Regions from separate parts of the Homo sapiens genome. Here region 2 is linked to region 1. The links are contacts of gene promoters, found by promoter capture Hi-C in blood cells and fetal thymus (Javierre and others, 2016). All regions are on one chromosome and are shown on one strand. The core of a region is centred on a gene start or on the middle of the fragment in contact, and the rest is flanking DNA. Distances in the headings are between cores, read along the strand shown.

The links. Contacts are between HindIII fragments. The CHiCAGO score rates a contact against its expected background, and 5 or more counts as called.
Region 2: a contact is called between a fragment that was not itself captured here and the fragment with the promoter of AVIL in region 1, in 1 of 17 cell types (M1 macrophages). The highest score is 6.4, in M1 macrophages.

Annotation. Positions count from the first base shown.
Region 1 is chr12:57,815,725-57,821,695 of GRCh38, reverse strand. AVIL (advillin) reads left to right here and starts at 2,962. Exons shown (of 20, transcript NM_006576.4): 1 at 2,962-3,067; 2 at 5,637-5,721. The coding sequence starts at 5,656. CTDSP2 (CTD small phosphatase 2) reads left to right here. Exons shown (of 8, transcript NM_005730.4): 8 at 1-1,769. The HindIII fragment of the contact is 1,940 bases long and covers 2,840-4,779 here.
Region 2 is chr12:62,280,997-62,286,967 of GRCh38, reverse strand. The region is part of intron 1 of USP15 (ubiquitin specific peptidase 15); the gene reads right to left. Among named protein-coding and RNA genes, the nearest start is that of USP15, 24 kb to the right of the region's middle. The HindIII fragment of the contact is 451 bases long and covers 1,898-2,348 here.

The DNA of each region.
Region 1 (5,971 bases), core at 1,713-4,212:
CAGAAATATACTGTCTCTTGAAGGAAAGCAGGAGCTCAGACTCTTAGAGCCAGCTGTGGCTTCGGACCCAAGGCCTGACCTAGGCTGCTATCCTAATATTGCAGGAGGGGCCTCTCTTCCAAGCCCCACCCTAAGGGTTAGCCCTTGGCCAAATCTTTTGCCGTCTAGGCCCAGCCAGGCTTTTCTGACTAAATAAGCAATAAGAGGCTCTAAGCTGACTGAGTTGCAAGGACCCTTTCCGCCCTCCCTTGGATCTCCATGTTTTTCCAGATGGCGGAAGAGCATGTGCCACCCCCTTTCCTAACAGACTTGTCCAAGTGCTTGGCGTGGGACCCATGACCAAAGCCCAGGATGGCTTGGTGGGAGTGTCCCTGCTGCATCTGCATGAAGCCCCTGCTTTTTAGGCCTCACTCCCATCAGAACCCTGCCTGCCCACCTGCAACTCCCCCCCAACAATGCCATTCCCACTTGCCCCAGAGAAGCTACTCGGCCAAACCTAGCCAGGGTCTGTTCTTGTGGACCAGAGCCAGCCTAGTCATTATTTGCTGTCGGGTTTCCAGTTTCACCGTGTGTTAGGGTGAGGGATGATTGTAAAATTTGCTCCTCAAAGGAATCAGGCCAGACTCAATTTTGGAGGGCAAGACAGGGAGGAGGCCGCTTCATCCCAGACTCTCTTCTAGGGCTTCCCACCATCAGCCCCTCCCACTTGAGACTGGTCTTTGGGAGGCAATAGGCCACCATGCCTGGTCAGCACCAATTCAAGCCATGCCAGGAATCTGCCTACCTGCCAGGTTCAGTTCTTTTAAGGTGCCTCTTCAGGGACACAGTGTGTCTCTCTGATTGGGCTTCTAAATCAAAAGCCTGATGTTCGTGTCCCTCTCATAGGGGGAGCTTTGGACACAGGACCAGTTTGGAAAAGGGTCAGGTAAGGGTTTCCACTCTGCACATTGTAGAGGGAACACTCTGTAGGCCCATGGGTCCCTTACTAGAGAGGTTGAGTGAATTTGCCTTCAGTTAACATGGGACCTTCTGTTTAGCTTCCTCTTGCTTCCCAAAGATTTTAAGCATTTTGTAAATGTATAAACTCACCTCTGGTAACAGTGGCCCAGACGCTGCTTTGTGCTAAAAGCATGGGAAATGTAAAGGCAGTCTTTCTCTGGGAAATGGATGCTATTCTATTCTGCTGCCCCTACCTGTTCCTGAGGCCTCATTTAGAAAGAAAATCCCCTCAGAAGGCTGTCTGGCACCCAGTGTCCTAGCCAGGCCAAGTATATGAGAAAGGTAAGTCCATTTTCCCCTTCAGGTCCTCAGTGGATTACTTAACCACTGCTGTCCCTCGGTCCCTTTTTCCTAAACGGGTTTAGTTCTGTCTTTTTTCTCCTTTTTTCTAAATGCTGGTAAATATTTACATTCAGCCAGGGAAGAGGAGGCCAGAGGTCGGGCCAGCTGCCCCATTCTTTTAACGTTGTAGGGCCTGCCCATGGAGCGGACCCTCCTCTTTGGGCCTCGTGAGCTTTTTTGCTTATCATGTTCCATTTCGTGCCGCTTTCCCCCTTCAAGATGCCATTTGGAGGGTAGGGGATCTGCTTCCCACTGTGACTGGGCTATGGGATTCTGACTACCTTGCTTACAGATTCATGGTTTGATAAATTTGTTGTATTCAAAAACTTGAAATGCAGGACGCCATTAAGTGTCTGTTTATATTTTTGGAATATTTGTATTACTTACAATTAATTAATAAAAGTGGGTTTAAAAAACCTTTCCAGGAATGTGAGCTGCCACCAACCTTCATTGGCCCTTAAGTGTTCACTGGGCCCATGGCAAGCACCGCCTTTCTTCTCGCAACCCCTTCCATCATGAAGCAGCTGCACCCCCGGGCTGAGTGGGGTGTTGCACCCACCGGGAGGCCAGCTGCAGATGCCACACAGGGCTTCCGCTCAAGGTTACACAAGTTCTGCTGTGATCAACCCCATTGCAGTCAGGTGCTTAGCACGTGTATATGCTTGATGTCCTATTGACTTCTGGGCATGAACCAGAAGCCCTAAGGGAATGGATTATTATTTTTTTTTTTTTTTTTGAAATGGAGTCTTGCTCTGTTGCCCAGGCTAGAGGCAGTGGCATGATCTCAGCTCACTGCAACCTCCACCTCCCAGGTTCAAGCGATTCTCCTGCCTCAGTCTCCTGAGTAGCTGGGATTACAGGCGCCTGCCAGCACGCCCGGCTCATTTTTGTATTTTTAGTAGAGATGGGGTTTCACCATCTTGGCCAGGCTGTTTTCAAACTCCTCACATTGTGATCCACCCACCTCAGCCTCCCAAAGTGCTGGGATTACAGGCGTGAGCCACCACCACACCCAGCCCTGGGAATGGAGTCTTGATTCTTCTCTGCCCCTCACTGATTCTTCCAAACTGGAAACCCTGAAGCTGAGAGCCCAGCATGGTTCCTGGCAAACAGCAGGCACTCAAATATTGATTGGTTTACTGTATGACTAGTAGAGACCCCAACGAGCAAAACTGTGGCCTAATAAAATTCTGGCTCCTCTCCCAGACTTCCCCTCCCTTTGAGAAATGCCAGAAGCTTCTTAGGGAGGCTCTTGCCAACCTAGACATCACAGGCACTCATGGGGCAGCTCCAGCCTCTTCCTCCTGTCATCACCATAATGCATCCATATCTACAATATGGCAAATTTCATATCCTTCCAACCTCTTTCCTGCATTATTGATGGGCTGTGTGCACTTTTTAAAAAATCAATTAGATCAGGGCGTGGAGCTGGAGTTCAAAGAAGCCTTTAAAAGTCTGCTCTTCTGTTTTGCTGTTTTGAATAGGCACAGATAAAGCTTTCCCTCTGGTTTGAATAAGCCAAGCTCAGTGCTAGGTTGGCTCTGATTGGCCAGGACTAGGAAAATGCGGTTAAGATGCAAACACAAGCAAATATAACCCAGTATCTCTGCGGCCATTACTAAGCTAAGGCAGCAGGACCTGGAGCCTCCTGCTTTGGAGTGGTTCTTCAATACTGCTGCTGCTTACGCGCCGGGAAACTGGGAAGGCTGGTGAGCGAGAAGGCAAGGTAAGGTCTCTGATTTACGGGGGCATGCCAGTTAATCCTCCTGAATGAGGAAGAAATGAAAGGAAGAGGAGCTTGAGAGTCCCTTGGCTTTGTCTTCTGAGATGAGGCTTTTAAAATGAACCAGGAGTCTGGCTGGCCAGTTTTGCAAACTTCTTGTTCAGAAGAACCCCTTAGAGGCAGCTGAACATATAGGGCACATTTTCAAAAGCTGGGAAAGACAGACCCCTTTCACCTATCCCTAGAGAAAGATGGTATGGAGCAAGGCAGGAGGAGTTAAAACCAGCTTCCTGGCCCAGAGAGGTGGCTTACACCTGTAATCCCAACACTTTGGGAAGCCAGGGCATGAGGATTGTTTGAGCCCAGGAGTTTGTAACTTGTGACCATCCTGGGCAACATAGTGAGACCCTGTCTCTACAAAAAAAAAAAAAAAAAAAAAAAAAAAAAAAGCCAAGCATGGTGGTGCACACCTGTGGTCTCAGCTTCTCAGGAGGCTGAGGCAGAAGGATCACTTGAGCCCAGGAGGTGGCGGTTGCAGTGAGCCGTGATTGTACCACTGCACTCCAGCCTGGGTGACAGAGCAAGACCCTGTCTCAAAAACAACAACAACAAAAAACAGCTTCCTCTGCTCAGGGTCCGTCCAAAAGGGCATCTCTGAGAATTACAGGCCACTGGCTTTTAACCTGACATTTCAAAACTGTGCCCCACACCCAAGGGGTTTCTGCAGTCCTCTCAAAGGATACTGAATTAGGATTTAGGGAGAAGGAGAGACCCAGCTTTGGGAGATTTGATGTCAGAACTGTGTTTTCTGTGTGTTCCAGTGTGACAGGAAGTCCCTTCCTGGAGCTTATCCTCTCGCATTCGGGGTGCCTGGCCCAGGGAGCTCCTTGATTCCTAAATTCCTGCTGGGAAACGGGACAGGTTTCAGCCTCTGAGGCTCACAGTCCTAATTGCTGCCGGCTGGTTTGGCTTTTACCAGGGTGACAGTTCTCTGTCTCCAAGGAATGAATTCAGTGGCCCTTGTCCCCTTCCCCTAGTTGGCTCATGGCTTTTGCCTTTAATGACTGCTACGTAGGGTCTGAAGAAAACCCAAACACCATATTTCCTGGCAATTCTGAGCAGCACAGGGTGGGGCAGCACAAGTTATCAAATTAAATTCTCAAACACTGGCTGCTCCGCACCATTGCCTTGCTTTAGTCCTGCTACAGCAGTAGACAAAGCGAGTCTGCTTTGAGCTTTATGGTTTTTTGCCAAAGTCCATACTAGATGGCGCATGCTCTCCAAACTTGGCTTTGTCCATCAAGGTTCAAGAAAACAATGGTCAGACATGTTCCTCTTAACAAACAGTATGTCCCCAAACAGCAAAAATGCATACAGTCCTTTCTGGGTGAATTTTTAAATCTTACATAAATCCATCAACCCCATCCTTTTTCCTTTGCCTCTTGGGAGAAATTAATCTAGCTTTACATTAATTATGCATGTTATCAGATTTCAAGCTCCTTGAGAGCAGGTATTTTAATTCTATAAAGCCTCTACGTGGCCTTGGACATGGGTAGGTGCTTAATTACCCAAGATGCTCCTTGAATACAGATGGTACACGACCTACACAGACTTAGATCTTTACCACTTCCCCCCTCTCCCCACCCTGACTTGCTCAATCCTGAAGGAACTGGAGACGTCTAAGTGTCTGAGGTTCACGCTTCCACACAGAAGCTTGGGTCTGTGTGGGAGGGAAAAAGGAAGCCATCTGTCCGCAGGCCAGACCAGGCCACACCCTGCTAGCACCCAGAACCCTTTGTCCCAGGCCCAGCCCTGCCATTTTACTTTCCTTGCATCTGGAAAGCACAGGGAATATAGTAGTGACAAAAGAAGGAAGGGTTGTTTGAGTTTAAGAATAGTTTACTCTAAAAAAAAAAAAAAAAAAAAAAAAAGGACAAAAGCCAAAGAGAAGGTCAAAGTTGACTGTGGAGAAGGCCTTGCAAGCAGGGAACTTGGGAAGAATTGGAATGAGAGTGAGAGAAGGCAACTGAGTTTGGAAATATTTTTTCTGACTAGCTTTTCTTTCCAAATGCCACTGAACTTAGATTGGTTTAGGAAGGGTTGTAGTACATCAAAGTGGCTAGAAGCACAGGTTTGGGGATCAGATAAGGATTTCATTCTAGAGTGTGATCTTGTACAAGTTATTCAGCCTTTGCAAACCTCAGATTCACACAATGTAAGATGAAGAAACTCACCTTCTGAAAATTAGAGATAACATATGCAAAGTGAATCAATACAGGGCTTAACATATTTATCACCCCTTTGGTAAATAACCATGACGATTACCAGAGCTCTTAAGGGCAATGGCAGGTGGGAAGCAGAACTCATGGGTGGTAATCCCCAGGCCAGCCAGGCTCACCATGTGCACTTGGACAAGTCCTTGCCCCCATCATTGTGAAATGGTGCAGGGATGCACCATGAGGGTGTGGCAGGATGGCTGACAACAGACTGGGAAGCAGCTCGGCAGAAAAACTGGATTGATGCCCACTATGGCAAGAGATATCATCTCCCCTCTTGTTCTGTGATGTTTCAGTCCTGGAAAGACAAGCATCATGCCTCTGACCAGTGCCTTCAGGGCTGTGGACAACGACCCTGGGATCATTGTCTGGAGAATAGAGGTGAGCTGGGCTGGAGGCACCTTACTTGTGACCACTGGCATCTGGAAGCAGTCTGGCTGCCTGGGGCTGCTAGGCAACAGCCCGCCAGCACCCCTTAGCCTATGGTTTGAGGAGAATGAGAGGCAGCATCAAAGTACCTATTTCCCATCCTTCACCTCTCCTGGGTGCTCAAAGCAGGTGGTTGGCAGGTGGAGGAAATGTTCAGCCCCGAAGAACAGGGCTCCAGACAAAAACAGGCTTGTCCTTTAGC
Region 2 (5,971 bases), core at 874-3,373, 4.5 Mb before region 1:
GTATATATGTATCACTTTTTTTTTTTTTTTGAGACAGAGTTTCGCTCTTGTTGCCCAGGCTGGAGTGCAATGGTGCGATCTCAGCTCACCGCAACTTCCACCTCCCGGGTTCAAGCGATTCCCCTGCCTCAGCCTTCCGAGTAGCCGGGATTACAGGCATGCGCCACCTCGCCTGGCTAATTTTGTATTTTTAATAGAGACGGGGTTTTACCATGTTGGTCAGGCTGGTCTCGAACTCCTGACCTCAGGTGACCCGCCCACCTCAGCCTCCCAAAGTGCTGGGATTACAGGCATGAGCCACCACGCCCGGCCATGTATCACATTTTCTTTATCCAATCCATCAATGATGGGCACCTGGGTTGATTCCATGTCTTTACTATTGTGAACAGTACTGTGATAAACATATGAGTGTAAGTGTCTTTTTGGTAGAATGATTTATTTTCTAGTAATGGGACTGCTGAGCGAATGGTATTTCTATTTTTAGTTCTTTGAGAAATCTCCAAACTGCTTTCTTTCCACAGGGGCTGAACTAATTTGCATTCTCACCAATAACATATTAAACATTCCCTTTTCTCTGCAATCTTGCTAAAATCTGTTAACTTTTTAATAATAGCCATTTCAACTGGTGTGAGATGGTATCTTACTGTGGTTTTGATTTGTATTTCTCTGATTATTAGTGATTTTGTGCATTTTTTCATACATTTGCTGGCTGTCTGTATGTGTTCTTTGGAGAATTCTCTTCATGTTCTTTGTCCACTTTTTAATGGGCGTTTTTTTTCTTATTAAGTTCCTTATAGAGTCCAGATATTAGTCTTTTGTTGTATGCATAGTTTGAAAATATTTTCTCCCATTTTGTAGATTGTCTGTTTACTCTAAACAGAAAAATTTCAAACTAACACATATGAATGGTCAACATATGAAAAAAAATTCCACATCACTAATTATCAGATAAATACAAGTAAAACCACAGTGAAAAAGCATCCATACCAGTCAGAATGGCTATTATTAGAAGCTCAAAAGATAACAGATGTTGGCAAGGATGCAGAAGAAAAGGAATGGTGGGAATGGAGGGAATGGAAATTAGTACAACCTTTATGGAAAACAGTATGGAGATTTCTCAAAAAACTAAAAATAGAACTATCACTGGATCTAGTAATTCCACTACTAGGTATATACCCAAAGGAAATGAAATCATTCTATCAAAAAGACACCTGCACTTGTATGTTTATCACAGCACTATTCACAATAGTGAAGATATGGAAACAACCTAAGTGTCCATCAGTGGATGATTGGATAAAGGCAATGTAGCATATATGGATACACACACACACACCATGGAATACTACTCAGCCATAAAAAAGAATAAAACCATGTTTTTTGCAGCACCATGGATGGAAGTGGAGGCCATTATCTTAGGAAACACTTTAAGTGTCCATAAATGGATGACTGGATAAAGACAATGTGGCACACTCATGTACACACACACATACACAAACACAAAGACACAAACACCATGGAATACTACTTAGCCATAAAAAAGAAGGAAGCCATGTTTTTTGCAGCAACATGGATGGAACTGGAGGCCATTATCTTAGGGGAAATAATTCAGAAATACAAAATCAAATACTGCATGTTATCACTTATAAGTGGGAGCTAAATCATGTATACACATAGAGCGTGAATAACAGACATTGGAGACTCAGAAGGGTGGGAGGCAGGAGAGGGATGATAAATTATTAAATGAGTACAATATACACTATTCAGCTGATGGCTACATTAGAAGCCCTTACTTCACCATTATGCAGTTCATCCATGTAACAAAACTGCATTTGTAGTCCCTAAATCTATAAAAATATTAATAGAAAGTATAATCAACTCTTAAAACCTTAATTAAGCTTCTTTACCAACAGAAGTTAATAACAACAATACTATCTCTGACTGTTCCTCCTATAGTAGTAAAATATGGGGCAAGCAGGATTGGTTTTTGAATGATTTCAAAAGTGTGATACAGCTAACACTGTAAACATTACTGAAACTATATCCATCTTATTTTCAGCTGCCTAGAAACTAGCTTCTCATCAGATGACCAATGACAGAAAAAGTAAAACAAGAGTTCACTAGGATAGAAAGCATTAAAAAAAAACCTAAAACATTGTAAAAATTTATTCTGACTACAGTATGCCTGCTATAAAATACTGCTTTGTCATTGGTTCACAATGATTTTAAATTTTTCTAGAAACATTTCTCCCACATTTAACCAGGTTCAATCACAAGCAGAATCAAAGGTAAAGATAAAGGTTAATGAGAGATTTAAAGCTCATGTGTGTAATACTACAGGTAACAAAGCTTTTTAGAAGATTATCCATTCTAGTGTTTCTTTTCTATGCTTACCATATATAGCACTATAAGAACAAAAACCCACAGTTACGTCCGAAAATAGCTAAAGCAAAGGCACTAACCTAACAAAACCTCAGATTTCTTAAAGAATATTCATGAGTTTAACTCCCTAAAAGTGGATATGCAGAATTATCTATGTACCAGTATTCTGAACTCACTGTCAAGATTATGCAATTGAAAGCCCCCACACATTGTGGAATTTAAGATTTGTGAGAAAAGAATTGAGGGACTAAGTCTTAAGAAAATCCTATTTTCTAAAATAAATATTGACTAGACTAGCAATGACTTTACTTATACTCAGACATTCGACTTGCTTTCTTCGCAAAGTTCCACAAAAAAGTCTAATAAGATTTTGATTGGAAGTACATTACACTTACAAAGTTGAGGGACACTGCCATCTTTACCAAAGTGAGTCTTCTTATCCACAGCCACGGCGTATCTCTCCATTATTCAGGTTAATGTCTTTCAATAAATTTTATATGTTTTTCCAATAAAAATCATGTTTTGCTAAATTCGTTCCTAGAAACCTCAGTTTTTCTATGTGAATTTTACATTTTTTCCCCAATTAATTAAATTCTATAACTGCTTGTAGTTGATGCATAGAAATAATATTTGTTGTTTGTTTTTTGGAGATAGGGTCTCGCTCTGCTGCCCAGGCTGGAGTGTGGTGGCACGATCTTGGCTTACTGCAACCTCCACTTCCCAGGTTCAAGCAATTCTCGTGCCTCAGCCTCCAGAGTAGCTGGGATTATGGCTTGTGCCACCATGCCCAGCTAATTTTTCTATTTTTAGTAAAGACCGGGTTTTGCCATCTTAGCCAGGCTGGTCTCAAACTCCTGGCCTCAAGTGATCCGCCTGCCTCGGCCTCTCAAAGTGCTAGGATAACAAGCATGAACCACTGTGCTCAGCCTAATTTTTTTAAGTGATTAATCTGATATCCACCAGCATCCTGAACTCTTAGTAGTTTTACCTGGTTGTAGGTTCCCTTAGATTTTTCTATGTAAAAACTCATACTGTTGCTGCAAATAATGTGTTTAATCATTCCTTTCTAATTGTATTCCTATTGTTCTTGTCTATTGCCTATTTTTCTTGGCTAGGGCTCCTAAAATATAGGTGAAGAGACAGCAAACATTTTTGTCTTTTTTTTTATGACAACATTTAAAGTTTCACCACTAGGTAGATTTTTGATAAATGCTGCTTATTAGCTTGCTGTAGGTTTTTGATAAATACTGCTTATGAACTTAGAGAAGTTCCTTTCTATTCAACATTTGTTTAGACTATCATGACTAAGTGTTAAAGGTGATGAAAATTTTCTGCACTTGCCAAGCTTTTTCTCCTGTACTCTTCTGAACAAACCTGGAATAGCTTTTACTCTTCTACTATCTACAAAAGTAGTTTGTAACGGGTTATCTGCCCCTTAATGATTTACTTGTATGAAAAACTACTGGGGAGTATAGTATCATTTGGGAGGGTAGACTCTGATCTTCAGTTAATTTTTCTTAGTTACTGATTTTTCCCTTTAAAATGGAAATGCAAAATTTCCCGTTAGTTTTCTTAAAAAGCTAATGCCATATCCATTAAAAATAGAATATGGACTTGAGATAACATTAATACTACAGTTACAAATATCATTTATAAAACACATTAAAAACAATTTGTGGAAAAGTATAGAAATTCTATTTATAGTTACTTAGACATTTTTAAGATATAGAGTTTTATCTCCCAAAGTACTTAATAAATCCTTTACAGTTATACAGTAGCCTCCTTTTATCTGCAGTTTCACTTTCTGCGGGTTAACTGTCAACTGTGGTACTCTCACTACTCTTGCATTTTGGGTCATTATTAAATAAAATAAGGGATACTTGAACATAAGGATTGTGATACTGCAACAGTCAACCTGATAACCAAGAGGGCTTGAAGGCAGTTTGGGTGGAATGGCACAGTATTTCATCATGCTATGCAGCACACATGTAATTTAAAACCTATAAATTATTTCTGAAATCTTCCATTTACATCACAATGCCTATGTCATTTACCTCATGTCATCTCATCACCTATGCATTTTATCATCTCACACTATTACAAAAAGGGTAAGTACAGTACAGTAAGGTATTTTGAGAAACCACATCCACATAACTTTTACAGAATATTGTCATAACTGTCCTATTTTATTATTAATTGTTGCTGTTAATCTTCCTGTGGCTAATTTATAAGTTAAACTTATTTATTTATTTTTTTTTGGAGACAGGGTCTTGCTCTGTCACCCAGGCTGGAGTGCAGTGGGGCATGATCACAGCTCACTGTAGTCTCAACCTCCCTGGCTCAAGTGATCTTCCCACCTCAGTCTCCTGAGTAGCTGGGACTACAGGCATGTGCCACAAACTCAGCTAATTTTGTTTATTTTTTGTAGAGATGAGATATCACTACGTTGCCCAGGATGGTTTCAAGCTCCTGGGCTCAAGGTGCCCTCCCACTTTGGCCTCCGAAAGTGCTGGGATTACAGACATGAGCCAGTGTGCCTGGCCTATAAATTAAACTTTATTATATGTAAGCATAGGAAAAAGCAGTGTATATAAGGTTTGCTACTATTTGCAGGTTCAGGCATCCACTGAGGGTCTTGGAACTTATACTCTGCAGATAAAAAGGGACTGCGGTACTAAAAGTATATACTTGGTAAACCTTCTATAATGTCATACATTTCTATGTCAACTGTCTATTGTCATATATTTCTGTATCAACTATCTTTCCTAGATCTTGTAGTGACTTCTTTCTGTACAATGATACTATTATGATAGGAGACTTTCCCATTTGATGATATTTAATTGCTTTCAATACTATCTTCAATTGAAAAAGGGCACCATATTTCTCTTAGGGCTATCTACACAATTTTATGGTAATGAAACATCAGGAAAGTAGAAAAATAGGAGAATCTGGCCAGGTGCTGTGGCTCACGCCTGTAATCCCAGCACTGTGGGAGGCCAAGATGGCTGGATCACTTGAGGCCAGGAGTTCAAGACCAGCCTGGCCCACATGTTGAAACCCCGTCTCCACTAAAAATACAAAAATTAGTCAAGTGTGGTGGCGCATACTTTTGTAACCCCAGCTACTCAGGAGGCTGAGGCACAAGAATTGCTTGAACCCAGGAGGTGGAGGTTGCACTGAGCTGAGAGCATGCCACTGCACTCCAGCCTGGGCAATAGAGCAAGATTCTGTCTCAAAAAGCAAACAGAAAAAGAAAAATAGGAGAATCTACTCCAGAAACAATGTATAGTGTTGTTAGGTATATATTAGAAAGATGAGATTAGAAGACGTAGACAAGAAAGAAGACTAAGAAAGGTAAGATTAGATGACACAGACAAATAAATGAAAAGATTTTATTTCAATACATTTATATAGATCTGTTGCACTGTAAAAACTATACTTCTACATCTATGAAATCTGCCAAAATTCCCAATGTTCAATCTGAACTGATAAAATACTAGAACGGAATCAACAGATTACAAAGACTACAAACAATGAACAAAGACCTGAATTCATATATTCTCAATGGTATTCTTAATCCTTATATACTATT